2 separate regions of the Homo sapiens genome follow, and region 1 is linked to region 2. Evidence: promoter capture Hi-C in human tissues and cell types (Jung and others, 2019). All regions are on one chromosome and are shown on one strand. The core of a region is centred on a gene start or on the middle of the fragment in contact, and the rest is flanking DNA. Distances in the headings are between cores, read along the strand shown. Region 1 holds the start of FBXO27 (F-box protein 27). Region 2 holds the start of FAM98C (family with sequence similarity 98 member C).

Region 1 (6,872 bases), core at 950-3,449, 630 kb before region 2:
GAGGATTCTAAGAGGGTCAAAAGGAGGTTTTATTTATTTTATTTATTTAAGACAGCTTCTCACTCTGTCGCCTAGGCTGGAGTGCAGTGGTGAGGTCTCAGCTCACTGCAACCTCTGCCTCCCTTGTTGAAGTGATTCTCATGCCTCAGCTTCCCGAGTAGCTGGGATCACAGGCATGCGCCACCATGCCCGGCTAATTTTTGTATTTTCAGTAGAGACGGAGTTTCGCCATTTTGGCCAGGCTGGTCTCACACTCCTGACCTCAAGTGATCCGCCTGCCTCAGCCTCCCAAAGTTCTGGGATTACAGGCGTGAGCCATCATGCCCGGCCTGGAGGTTTTATATTTAATTATTTCCCTGATACTACGTAATTTGCTCATTATGCCAACTGTTTATCATGTCTCTCCCTCTAGAAGGTAAGTTCTTTGTGGGGAAGAATCCATGTCTGGTTTTGTTTGTTGATGTCTTAAACTATGTATACAGCTCACGTTATGTCGAAGCCAAATAAAATATAGAGATATAGAGACAAATCTCTCGATTTAAAATGTTTTGTTGCGGTGGCTCATGCCTGCGATCCCAGCACTTTGGGAGGCTGAGGCGGGCAGATCACCTGAGGTCGGGAGTTTGAGACCATCCTGGCCAACATGGTGAAACCCCGTCTCTACTAAAAATACAAAAATTAGCTGGGCATGGTGGCATGCGCCTGTAATCCCAGCTACTCGGGAGGCTGAGGCAGGAGAATCGCTTGAACCCATGAGGCGGAGGTTGCAGTGAGACGAGATTGCATCACTGCCCTCCAGCCTGGGCGACAGAGCGAGACTCTGTCTCAAAAAAATAATAAAATGTTTTATTTGGGAAGCAAGAATTGACATTCGAGGCATCCACACAGACCAGGCGGTCTTCAGAACTTTCAAAGAACAAAGAGGTTAGAGGTTTTTATAAGAAACAGAAATGTTAGGTATTGTTTTGCAAGAAAGTTCATTGACACTAGCAACGTTCTGGGGAGCTGGCAAGTTCTGACTGGTAAGTGACAGCAGAGGGAAAAACTAGTCTTAGAGTCACGGCAGGTTTTTTCAGTACCAGTTAGACTGCTTCCAGGTTACAACAGGCAGTTTTAACAGCCAGGCTTGCAGAGAATCACTTTCTTGGAGCAATGGTATCTGCCCTAAGTGTTTTCCCCCCGGCCTCTCAACTTTGTTTTAGTTGGATATGACAAGAAGGATCCAATTCACATGATCAACTTTCACAATTTTTTTTTTCTGTTTGTTTTTTGAGACGGAGTCTCACTCACTCTTTTGCACAGGCTGGAGTGCAGTGGTGCAATCTCTGCTCACTGCAACCTCCCCCTCCCGGATTCAAGCAATTCTCCTGCCTAAGCCTCCAAATTAGCTGGGATTACAGGCGCGTGCTACCACGCCCAGCTAATTTTTGTATTTTTAGTAGAGACGGGGTTTCACCATGTTGGCCAGGCTGGTCTCGAACTTCTGACCTCAAGCGATCCGCCTGCCTTGGCCTCCCAAAGTGCTGGGATTACGGGCATGAGTCACCGCACCCAGCCACAATTGTATTTTTATTGGACAGAGCTGATCTAGAGGTTAAAATGAGGAATTCCGGAGCTAGGCTGGCTGGATTCAAATCCCTACTAGCTGGTGATCATAGACAAGCCACTTGGCCTCTGCTGGTCTCAGTTTTTTCACCTGTGAAGTAAAGGGCATAACAGCACCTACTTCATGGGGTTGCCACCCTGGCTGGCAGTAAAACCGTCCATAAAAGTTGGCTGGTGTTACTATTGGTTGCATTAATTTTTAGCAGCCGGAGCCTGTTTTCTCCTGTGAAATGAAGATAACCACGCCCGACCTTAAAGGTGATGGAAATTTTTTAACACGTTAACGGATACGAGGCCTCCCACTCAGAAGCCTGACCAAAATAACAATGGTTGCTCAGAGCCAGACGTCTCATTGCTACTAACGAATTAGGGACACTTCAAGGGGCCGGCTGGAGGGGACGGCTGTGAGCAGCAGGCCTTGGCTCCTGGCTGCACCTGGCCCCGTCGCGGGAAGCAGGTTGGGTTTGGAGAGCGGGAGGGAGCAGGCGGGAGGGGCTGGCGAGTAAGAAAGAGGATGCAGGGGTGGGTGAAGCTGGCTAGTAAGAGGGGAGGGGCCGGCGAGTAAAAAGGACGCAGAGGGGCGTGGGGAGCTTGCGGCACAGCTAGGGCATCCCGGCGAGGAGCGCCGCCAGGCCCCGGGGTAGGACTTGGGGTGCGGTGTCGGTGCGGCCGCCGAGGGGGGCTGATTGCATGCAATTCGGGGCATACACACAGACCGCGGGGTCTCCGGGATATCGGGGCTATCAAGGACGGGCTGGGGGATGGGGACTTGGGGACGGGGCCCAGGGATGGTGAAGACGGGGGTGCGGCTGGCAGAATCAGGGCAGGCAGAGGCTGCGCGCCGCGGAGGCTGCTGGTCCCTGACGCCTTGACCCTTCCTCTCCCGCAGCCACAGCCGGGCCTGGCGGGGGGACCATGGGCGCCTCGGTCTCCAGGGGCCGGGCCGCCCGGGTCCCCGCGCCGGAGCCGGAACCCGAAGAGGCGCTGGACCTGAGCCAACTACCCCCAGAGCTGCTTCTGGTGGTGCTGAGCCACGTCCCCCCGCGCACGCTGCTCGGGCGCTGCCGCCAAGTGTGCCGGGGCTGGCGAGCCCTGGTGGACGGCCAGGCCCTGTGGCTGCTGATCCTGGCCCGCGACCACGGCGCCACCGGCCGCGCGCTGCTGCACCTCGCCCGCAGCTGCCAGTCTCCCGCCCGTAACGCCAGGCCTTGCCCCCTGGGCCGCTTCTGCGCGCGCAGACCCATCGGACGCAACCTTATTCGCAACCCCTGCGGCCAAGGTGGGATCTCGGAAGAGGAAGTCCAGGATGCTGGGCCACAGTGGGAGCGGTAGCGGGGCCGGAGGGGCGGGGCCGCACTGGGACCGGTACTAGGGGCCGCAGGGGCAGGGCCGCAGTGGGACCGGTGGGAGGAGTCGGAGAGGCGGGGCAGCATTGGGAGCCGGTGTGAGGTGCCGGAGGGGCGGGGCAGCATTGGGAGCCGGTGGGAGGTGTCGGAGGGACGAGGCAGCATTGGCACGCAGGGTGCAGGGCTGACTGGGCAGGGCTTCACCGTTTGCCTGTGGGAGGGGTGGGAGTGGGGCAGTTCTGGGAGCCCGAGAGAGGGGTTGGAGGGGCAGGGCTTTGCTGCAAATCAGTGAGAAGGGCCAGAGGAGCGGGGCTTTGCCCTGAGCTGGTGGGAGGGGAAGGGGGCGGGGCCTCGGTGGGAAGGGTCAGGTGAGTGAGCTGCACTGTGAGCACGTGGGAGGGGCTAGGGGCGGGGTCTCACTAGGAACCAACAGGCGGGCGACTGGAACTTGGGCACAAGCCTTTTTTATTTCACAGAAGGCCTCCGAAAGTGGATGGTGCAACACGGTGGGGACGGCTGGGTGGTGGAGGAAAACAGGACAACCGTGCCTGGGGCCCCTTCTCAGACGTGCTTCGTGACTTCATTCAGGTGAATGCCCCTGCTATCCAAAGGTCCGGCCCCTTGTTGAGAAAGGCCTGCCTGTTCTCATTACCCTGTCTCCTGCATTCCCAGCTGGTGTTGCAAGAAGCAGGTCTTGGACCTAGAGGAGGAGGGTCTGTGGCCAGAACTGCTGGATAGTGGCAGGATTGAGATTTGTGTCTCTGACTGGTGAGTGTGACGATTAAAATAGCCCCTTGCTAAGCACTGACTGCATGTGACATGGCCTTTTTATGGGTGACTTAATTTAGGCCTCCTAACCCCTCCTTACAGATAAAAAATCTGAAGTTCAGGCCAGCCATGGTGGCTCACACCTATAATCCCAGCACTTTGGGGGGTCGAGGCAGGCAGATCACTTGAGGTCAGGAGTTCGAGACCAGCCCAACCAGCATGGCAAAACCTCGTCTCTACTAAAAATACAAAAAAAAAATTAGCCGGGCCTGGTAGTGCACACCTGTAGTCCCACATACTTGGGAGGCTGAGGCAGGAGAATCACTTGAACCCAGGAGGTGGAGGTTGTACCACTACACTCCAGCCTGGACGACAGAGTGAGACTCAGTCCTGGAAAAAAAAAAGAAAGAAAAGAAACTGAAGTTCAGGGAGGTGAAGTGAAAAACACACTCACAGTTCTAGTAATTAGCAGAGTACACACTTTCTGCTCATGCCCAAAAGGATGTGGATTGGAAGACAGAAGATGAGATCCAGTACAGAGACCTTTGGCCCAGCTCAGTCTTGTCTGTGAATGAATGAGATGCTCCTTGCCTTAGGAGGAGAAAACAGCATAGTTAGCCAAGAGCTTAGGTTCTGGAGCCAGACCTCCCAGATTCAAACCCTAGCTCTGTGGCTTTGTAGCCTTGGGCAAGTCACAGCATACCTCTGTTTCCCCTGTTTACAAGATAGGGCTCTTGCAATGACAATTATTATATGGCAAACACATAGCAAGTACTTTATGTGAGCACCTTTTTTTGAACCTTGATCCTGTGGGAAGGTGTATTTCAAGCCCTCAGATCATTCAGAGCTTCTCAGGAAATTGAGAGGTTGGGAAAGGGGAGATGGCAGTCTGGGCACGGTGGCTCATGCCTGTAATCCCAGCACTCTGGGAGGCCGAGGTGGGCAGATCTCTTGAGCTAAGGAGTTCGAGACCAGCCTGGCCAGCATGGCAAAACCCATCTCTACTAAAAATACAAAAAATTAGCTGGGCGTCATGGTAAGTGTCTGTAGTCCCAGCTACTCAGGAGGCTGAGGCAGGAGAATCACTTGAACCCGGGAAGTGGAGGTTGCAGTGAGCTGAGATGGCACCACTGCACTCCAGCCTGGGCAACAGAGCGAGACTCCATCAAAAAAAGAAAGGGGAGATGACTTGCCCTGGTCTGGTCACACAGCCTGGGCTTGGCAGAACCTGGCATAAGGCTCAGAGTCAGATTCTGACTCCAGAGCTTGTCCTCTGTAGTGATGGTCTTGAAACTGGGGTGCATGAAGACTTTCCAGGGGATATATGACCCAGATGGTTTTATGGGAGTCAAATTCCAGGTCCACTACAGCCATGAGCCCCCTATTACACAATTAATCTGCTATAGGTTACATCTGTGTGGGAAGTATCATATGATTCTCGTTCCCCAATCTCTTTCTCAGTGTCCCCCTTCTCTAGTTTTATAGGAAAAAAGCCCCTCACTAAGGTGTGGTCCCCAGATGTAAGGACTACTGGGGAGCCAGGCAAAGTGGCCATTGGAAATTTGGGGCCTTAGCAAATTCACTTTTTTTTTTTTTTTTTTTGAGACAGAGTCTCACTAGGTGGCCCAGGCTAGAGTGCAATGGTGCAATCTCAGATCACTGCAACCTCTACCTCCCAGATTCAAGTGATTCTCCTGCCTCAGCCTCCCGAGTAGCTGGGATTACAGGTGTGCACCACCACACCTGGCTATTTTTTTTTATTTTTAGTAGAGATGGGGTTTCACCATGTTGCCCAGGCTGGTCTTGAACTGCTGACCTCAGGTGATCTGCCCACCTCAGCCTATTAAAGTGCCGGGATTACAGGCATAAGCCACTGTGCCTGGCCAGCAAATTCACTCTTAATCAAGGCACCATAACCCTATTCCCCAACTCCATCTCATTAAGAGATACATCTCCAATAAGATTTTTTTTTTTTTTTTTTTTTTTAGAGACAGAGTCTTGCTCTTTTACCCAGGCTGGAGTGCAGTGGCGTGATCTCGGCTCACTGCAATCTCTACCACCTGGCCTCAAAAAATCCTCCCACCTCAGCCTCCTGAGTAACTGGGACTACAGGTGCATACTGGCTAATTTTACATGCCTGGCTAATTTTTGAATTTTTTGTTTTTTTGAGACAAAGTTTCACTTGTCACCCAGGCTGGAGTGCAATGGCACAATCTCAGCTCACTGCAACCTCTGCCTTCTGGATTCAAGTGATTCTCCTGCCTCAGCCTCCCCAGTAGCTCGGATTGCAGGTGTGTACCACCACGCCTGGCTAATTTTTGTATTTTTAGTAGAGACGGGGTTTGGCCACGTTGGCCAGGCTGGCCTCGAACTCCTGACCTCAGGTGATCTGCCCGCCTCTGCCTCCCAAAGTCCTGGGATTACAGGTGTGAGCCACCATGCCCAGCCATATTTTCTGTAGAGACGGGGTTTTGCCATGTCACCCAGGCTGGCCTTGAACTCCTGGATTCAAGCAGTCCTTACACCTCTGCCTCCCAAAGTGCTGGGATTACAGGTGTGAGCCACCACGGCTGGCCAGATTTTATTTTTTGTTATTACTTATCAAACTATGTAACATATTTGTGTTGTTTTGATCAGTGGGTACTATTTGATTGTGATAATCAGTGGCTCCCAAATTTTGCCGCACCTCATAAAGGTAGCTTTTAAAACATAAAATGCCCAGGCACCATTCATACCCATTAAATCTGAGCATCTGAGGGTGAGAGCCAGGCACCAATATTTGTTTGTTTTTTGTTTTTGAGACAGGGTCTCCCTCTATCGCCCAGGCTGGAGTGCAATGGTGCGATCTCAGCTCACTGCAACCTCTGCCTCCTGGGTTCCAGCGATTCTCCTGCCTCGTAGCTGGGATTACAGGCACCTGCCACCACGCCTGGCTAATTTTTGTATTTTTAGTAGAGACAAGGTTTCACCATGTTGGCCAGGCTGGTCTCGAACTCCTAACCTCAAGTGATCCACCCACCTCGGCCTCCCAAAGTGTTGGGATTACAGGCGTGAGCCACCTCGCCCAGACAGGCATCAATATTTGTGAGAAGTTTAGAGCTTGCTACAAAGTTCGGGGATGGAATCCCTAAGACCATCCTCGCTTCTGACATG
Region 2 (7,417 bases), core at 2,606-5,105:
ATTGGGATCAGCACTGCCCTCATGGCCTCTCCTTGGGCCTGGAGTGGGGAGGAGGTAAGAGAAGGTACCCTGGAGCCCTTCCCCACGTGGGACCTGTCATCTTGGAAGCATTACTTTACCATTCAAGACCTCACTGCCCACAGCTCAAATAAATATTTATTTTTTGAGACAGGGTCTCGCTGTCACCCAGCCTGGAGTGTGGTGGCGTGATGGTGGCTCACTGCAGCCTCAATCTCCTGGGCTCAAGTGATCCTCCTACCTTAGCCTCCTGAGTAACTGAGATGGACAAGCATGCGCCACCATGCCCAGCTAATTTTTTTTTTTTTAATTTTTAGTAGAGACGGGGGTCTTGCTATGTTGCCCAAGGTGGTCTCAAACTTCTGAGCTCAAGTGATCCTCTTGCCTTGGCCTCCCAAAGTGCTGGGATAACAGGCATGAGCCACTGTGCCTGACTCTGCTCGTATCTCTTAAAGATGGGGTACACTTGGCCAGGCGTGGTGGCTCATGCCTGCAATCCCAGAACCTTGGAAGGCCAAGGCAGGCAGATCACCTGAGGTTGGGAGTTTGAGACCAGCCTAACCAACATGGAGAAACCCTGTCTGTACTAAAAAATACAAAATTAGCCCGGCGTGGTGGTGCATGCCTGAAATCCCAGCTACTCGGGAGGCTGAGGCAAGAAAATCACTTGAACCCAGGAGGCGGAGGTTGCGGTGAGCCAAGATCGCACCATTGCACTCCAGCGTGGCCAACAAAAGCAAAACTCCGTCTCAAAAAATAAAAAATAAAAAAAAAAGGCTGGGTGCAGTGGCTCATGCCTGTAATCCTAGCACTTTGGGAGGCCAAGACAGGCAGATCACAAGGTCAGGAGATCGAGACCATCCTAGCCAACATGGTGAAACCCTGTCTCTACTAAAAATACAAAAATTAGCTGGGCATGGTGGCATGTGCCCGTAATCCCAGCTACTCAGGAGGCTGAGGCAGGAGAATCACTTGAACCCGGGAGTCGGAGGTTGCAGTGAGCTGAGATCGCACCACCACACTCCAGCCTGGCAACAGAGTGAGACCCCGTCTCAAAAAAAAAAAAAAAATGATGGGGTATGCCTCTGAATATACTGCCAGCTCAGAGCTGGGAATTCAACAATACCCTGGGACCCTGAGATTCTAGGAGCCCCAAACCTCAAAAAATTATAAAATGTCCATGGCCTGAGAACCTGCAAGAGGGTGATACTCCTGGCCCTCATTCCTCCTCCCTGCAACTGCAGCCCCCACAACTGGGCCTCTCCAATTCTGCATGGTCCCCTGCCCACCACACCTCTGCCCGGTCACTCCAGTGGAAAGCAGATGTAGTGAGGTCAAGGCGCTTGAGGAGGAGGCAGCGGCGGCAGCGGTACTGATCTCTGAGGCTTTGGGACAGAGACTCCAACGCTTCCTGGGAGAAAAGGTCTCAAGGTCAGGCTAGGGGTCCCTCTCACTGCCACCTCTGATGAGGACACAGTTCACATTCAGTCAGTCGCACACAGTCTTACCCATCTGGGTGCATCTAGCGAGCAGCTGAGGAGGGGCTGCAGGGACCCTGGGGGCAGAGAAGGCTGCAGCTCTGAGATCTGATGGGAGAAGAAGTCAGAGGCCAACTGGGGCAGAGAGGATGGGCCCCTCTGTAAACTCAGCTCCCCACACCCCTGAGGACCTAGGCCACAGATGTGAGAATGCCAGTCACAGCTCCAGAAAAAACAGGCCAGTGGTTGGAATACTCCTTCCAGAAGTGGAGAGAGGACCCCCACCCCCACAAGGAAAGTGGGGTAGCCCAGGTCGGGAGGGGACTCTGACTCTCTACCTTAGCATGCAACTCCTGCAGCAGCTGGCTGGCGGGGGTCCCTGGTGCAGGTCTGGGCAGCCCCAGGGCTTGGAGGGTAAGGTCCAGTTCTTGGACCATGCCGGCTCCCTCCACTACCCCTTCACCAAGGGGTGGCCTAGGACTCGGATCCAGCAGAGAGCGGAGGCACAGGAGGCGGGTGGCTTGGAGCTCTGAGCAGAGAAAGCCTGAAAGTAATAAATGGGTGCTGTGCACTCAGGGAGGCTGCTACCCACTCATCCATCTTGGTCAAAAAGCTCCACTGATGGCCGGGTGCGGTGGCTCACACCTGTAATCCCAGCACTTTGGGAGGCAGAGGCGGGCGGATCACGAGGTCAGGAGATGGAGACCAGCCTGGCCAACATGGTGAAACTGTGTCTCTACTAAAAATACAAAAATTAGCAGGACATAGTGGTGAGTGCTTGTAATCCCAGCTACTCGGGAGGCTGAAGCAGGAAAATCGCTTGAACCAGGAAGTTGGAGGTTGCAGTGAGCTGAGATCATGTCACTGTACTCCAGCCTGGCAACAGGGCGAGACTCCATTTCAAAAAAAAAAGAGGCTCCACCGGCTTTAAAACCTCCACCTTTGCCCAGGCACAGTGGCTCATGCCTGTAGCCTGTAATCCCAACACCTTGGGAGGCTGAGGTGGGAGGATCGCTTGAAGCCAGGAGTTGAAGACCAGACAGGGCAACATAGGGAGACCCCACCTCCACTTAAAAACAAAACAAAACAAAATCCTCCACCTTCTAGTCCCCCCCACCTAAAGCCTTCCAGAGTAAGCCCCACCTTGAGACCCTGTCCCCTCCTACGAATTCCACTCCTGCCCACTTTGAAACCTCAAGCCTTCCTCCTAATCCAACCCACTTGAGCTCCTAGGCCCTCCAATTAAAATTCTAACCCCGGGCCGGGCGTGGTGGGCTCACGCCTGTAATCCCAACACTTTGGGAGGCCGAGGTGGACAGATCACCTGGGGTCAGGAGTTCGAGACCTGCCTGGCTAACATGGTGAAACCCCGTTTCTACTAAAAATAGCCGAGTGTGGTGTCGCGCGCCTGTAATCCCAGCTACTCGGGAGGCTGAGGCAAGAGAATCACTTGAACCTGGGAGGTGGAGGTTGCAGTGAGCCGAGATCACGCCACTGCACTCCAGCTTGGGTAACAAGAGTGAAACTCCATCTCAAAAATAATAATAATAAAATAAATAAAAAATAAAACGAAATTCTACCCCCGCCCATTTTAGAGCGCTCTGCTTGCCCCAACATGCTCACCCCACCCACCTCGTACCCTCTGGGCCGCCCCAAAGTTCTGACCACACCCCTTGGGAACCTCGATTTCCCCTAAAAAGTCAGAGCCCGCCGCTCCGGAGGCCATGGCCTTGCCACTTCTGCATCCCGGGACTCACGCAGCAGGCGCAGTCCGGCACCGGGTTCCCGAAGCGCAGCCGCGCCATCCCCGCCGCAGAGCGCGCGATCCGGGCAGTGCAGCTCCCGCAGCAGGCTGCCGAGCTGCCGCAGAAAGTCCTCCTCCGCGCCAGGGCCTGCGAGGACAGGGGTGTCAGGGCTCGGTGGCCCCGTGGCGGCCCCCCTGCCACCCTCCCGCTCCGTGTTTACCGTCGCCGGCGCTCAGCACCTCCGCGCCCGCCTCTCGCTGCTGCTCGAGGGCGCCCAGCGTCGCCAGCTCCGCCGCCAGCCGCACGCACAGCCCCCTGAAGTCTGGGCATGAGGCGCCCCGCGACGCCGCCCCCGGGACACCTCCATACCTGTGGGGACCGAGGCAGCGGGAGGGGGCGGGGATGTCACTGGGAATCCCTTTTCGTCCGCGTCCAGGGGGCAGACCTGGCCTTCCTGCACCCACCAGCCTCACCGCACACCCTTTTACCCCAGAGCCAGCAGGTCCTGGGCCACCGCGGCCCCCTCCCACGCTTCCGCCTTCACCGCCTCCATGAAAGTGTGGTCTCGGCGCGCCCCCTGGCGGCCGGTGGCAGGCTCCGCCCCAAAAGCGCCGCGCGCACGAGCTCCCCGCAGCGTCCGGCGGCACTGACCAATCGGCATCTTCCCGCGCAGGGGCTTGGGTGCTCCCATTGGCGCAGGAGGACGCCGAACCCGCCCCGGGGCCCGCCCGCCCCGCCCCTCGGCTAACCTGTCGGGGTTGTAGGAACGCCCCCTGGAGCTGTAAATTGCAGTGCGTTCGGGATCTCCGCTGTCAAGACAAGCTGGCGGCGGGTGTCACTGTTGCGGCGACATAAAAACAACTTCGGTGCCATTTTCCTTTTCCTCCCTCAGTTGTCTTCTGCTGGTGTTTTGTTGGTTTGTTTTTGAGGCAGATTTCGCTCTATCGTTCAGGCTGGACTGCAGTGGCGCCATCGCGGCTCACTGCAGTCTCGACCTTCTGGGCTCAAGAGATCCTCCCGCCTCAGCCTCCCAGCTAAATTTTTAAAAATCAGTCAGCCTTGGTGGCTTACACCTAGTAGCTGGGACCACAGGCGCAGACCACCGCGCCTGGCTGATTTGTTTTTAATTTTTTTGTAGAGACAAGGTTTCCTCATGTTGCCCAGCCTGGTTTCCAACTGCTGGGTTCAAGCGATCCGCCTGCCTCGGCCTCCCAAAGTGCTGGAATTACAGGCGTGAGCCACTGCAACCGGCCAATTTTTTTTTTTTTTTAAAGTTTTGTAGAGGCCGGGCACGGTGGCTCACGCATGTAATCCCAGCACTTTGGGAGGCTGAGGTGGGTGGATCACTTGAGGTCAGGAGTTCGAGACCAGCCTGGGCACATGGTGAAACCTCATCTCTAATAAAAATACAAAAATTAGCCGGGCGTGGTGGCACACGCCTGTAGTCACCACTATTTGGGAGGCTGAGGCAGGAGAATTGCTTGAGCCCGGGAGACACAGACTGCAGTGAGCCAAGATCGCGCCACTGCACTCCAGCCTGGGGACAGAGCAAGACTCCGTGTCAAAAAAGAAATAAAGTTTTGTAGAGAGGGGTCTAGCTATGTCGCCCAGGTTTGCCTCTAACTCCAGTGTTCAAGCAATCCTTCCCTCTCAGCCTTCCAAAGCTTGGGATTACAGGCTTGAGCCAGTGTTCCTGGCCCTGTCCTCTGCTCTTAAAGCAGCCCAGACGGAGTGGTGTTCACCCAACTCTGCCTAAAATCCAAAACTTCCTCCCTCCTTTCCACCTCAGGGTTTGAATTACATAAGGGACCCAGGAATCCCAGCACACCCCTCACACACCAGGCCCTCCTCATCGATCACGATGTGCCTGTTAGGCCTTCACTCCTCTCCCTCTTAGGCCTTGGAGTGAGCAGGTGCAATGCACCATAGTGGTTAAGAGATTACACCCTAGGAATCAGGCAAAGGGTTAGGGCTTGATTCTGTTACTCGCCAGCTCCATGTTCCTGCCAAATTGCTTCCCATCTGTATAATGGGGATAATAGTACCTACCTCTTAGAGTTGTTGCTGAGGATTAATTAGAGTTTCATATGTAAAAAGTGCTTAGCAGATATATAGGGAGTACTTAATAAGGAATAACTAATATATATACAGCATTTAATGTGTACTATTGGGCGAAGTATCTTATCTCTTTTACAGAAGAGAAAACTAAGGTTGAGAGAAGATAAGTCACAGAGTGAATTCATGGTGATGCCAAGGCTTGAAGATGAAATTCCAGACTCTATACTCTTAAACCACGGAACCTATTTCCACTGTTACTACTGCTGTTGTTTTGTTGCTGTTGCTAAGTAAACATTGTGTCAGATCTAATCTCTTCCTTACTGTATCCTGGTATCCAGTAGTTCCTAGACAATTCTGCTGGAAGTTGGGGGTGGACCAGGAGCCTGGAGGGAAGAACAGGGGTAGAACTTGTTCCTTAAGGGCAGATACGAGTAACCCCATAACCCTGTTTACCCCAAGGCAGGACACTTGGGGGGCTATTTTTTGACATAAATCAAATGTTAAAAATTGCCCAGAGGTGGGCCACAGTGGCTCACACCTGTAATCCCCGCCTTTCAGGAGGCTGAGGTGGGAGGATCGCTTGAGCCCAGGAGTTTAAGACCAGACCAGGCACCATAGTGAGAACATGTCTCTACAAAAACATTTTTAAAATTAGCCAGGCTTGGTGGTGTGCACCTGTAATCCCAGCTACTCGGGATGCTGAGGTGGGGGGATCACTTGGGCTCATGAGTTTGAGGCTGCAATGAGCAGTGATCATGCCACTGCACTCCAGCCTGGGTGATGAACTCAATTTAAAACAAAAAAAAAAATTGCTCCAGCCAAAAACCTGGACTTACTATCTTGACTCCTCTATCTCAAATCCCATACATAAATCTGTGGGTTCTATTTACAAAGTAGGCCCAACACCTGCCCACTTCTCCACCCTTCAGGGCCCTCACCCTGGGCCTGTCCGCTGCTGTCTTGTCCTGAACCATCACAGCAGCCTCCTCTCTGTGAAGCTGTCCCCCACCCCACTCCTACTCTGCTGACCACATGCAGCAGAAGGAGCCTGTGAACTGAGTCAGGTCACATGCCTCCCATGTTTGAAATTTCCTGTGGCTCCGTCTCACTCAGGGTAAAAACCTAAGTCCATTCAATGCCCTTCAAGGCCTGACAGATCTGCCCCATCGCCTCTCTGCCCTCATCTCCTAGCGCTCTCTTCTCTGCTTCCTCCCCTCTCAACACTCTAGCTCCCTGAAGCTCCTCAGACTTACCGGACACACTCCTGTCTCAGGGCCTTGCACTGGCTGTTCCCTTTACTTAAAATACCCTTCCCTGCAGACATCCCCAGAACTCCCTCACCTCCGTCAGGGCTTTGTTCAAATGCCAGCTCCTGGCTAGGCACAGTGGCTCACACCTGTAATCACTTGGGAGATTTCCACCTGGAATCACTTGGGAGACCAAGGCAGGTGGATCACTTGAGGTCAGGAATTCGAGACCAGCCTGGCCAAAATGGTGAAACCCTGACTCCACTAAAAATACAAAAATTAGCCGGGCGTTGTGGCACCCACCTGCAGTCCCAGCTACTCAGGAGCCTGAGGCAGGAGAATCACTTGAACCCAGGAGGCAGAGGCTGCAGTGAGCAGAGATCATGCCACTGCACTCCAGCTTGGGTGACCGAGTCAGACTCTGTCTCAAAACAACAAATGCCAACTCCTGAGGAGGGTCTAACCTGGCCACTCTAGCTAAAATGGCATGTATCCCCCATTCCCACTTTTTTTTTTCTTTCTGCTTTCTATCATTTCTAACATATTAAGTCATTTACTTATTGTCTCCCCTACTATAAAGCTCATAAGCTCTTTGCAGGAGGGACTTTTGTCTGTTCTGCCCACTGCTTTATCTCCAGTGCTTTCAACAGGGCTTGGCACATAATTAGGTGCTCAATAAATGCATTTGTTGAGTGTCTTATAAAACTCAGCTTGAGGGTCTGATGGGAGAAGGGAGAATTTAAGTAGGAGACTGGTTTAGCAGTTCAGGAAGGTGAGTGGGTGGGGTGCACAGAGGCAAATAAATAACACAGGCTGAGACTTTGTCACAGACATTTCTTGGAGCAGATCTCGTGCCCCCTCCCCCGATGAC

Evidence for each region. Contacts are between HindIII fragments. The study calls those that stand out against the background at their distance.
Region 1: the fragment with the promoter of FBXO27 here is called in contact with the fragment with the promoter of FAM98C in region 2 in 1 of the 25 tissues and cell types used here (heart left ventricle).

What each region holds. Positions count from the first base shown.
Region 1 is chr19:39,027,876-39,034,747 of GRCh38, reverse strand. It overlaps FBXO27 (F-box protein 27), which reads left to right and starts at 2,199. Exons shown (of 6, transcript NM_178820.5): 1 at 2,199-2,245; 2 at 2,495-2,884; 3 at 3,428-3,539; 4 at 3,624-3,719. The coding sequence starts at 2,521. RefSeq lists silencers at 2,421-2,490, 2,551-2,700, 2,901-2,980, 3,131-3,370, 3,220-3,402 and enhancers at 2,312-3,104, 3,511-3,620. The HindIII fragment of the contact is 13,585 bases long and covers 1-3,683 here.
Region 2 is chr19:38,399,531-38,406,947 of GRCh38, reverse strand. It overlaps FAM98C (family with sequence similarity 98 member C), which reads right to left and starts at 3,855. Exons shown (of 8, transcript NM_174905.4): 1 at 3,730-3,855; 2 at 3,462-3,610; 3 at 3,254-3,388; 4 at 1,835-2,040; 5 at 1,527-1,604; 6 at 1,313-1,429; 7 at 1-38. The coding sequence starts at 3,794. SPRED3 (sprouty related EVH1 domain containing 3) reads right to left here. Exons shown (of 6, transcript NM_001394336.1): 6 at 7,361-7,417. RefSeq lists silencers at 3,349-3,548, 3,739-4,068, 6,631-6,789. The HindIII fragment of the contact is 13,651 bases long and covers 1-7,417 here.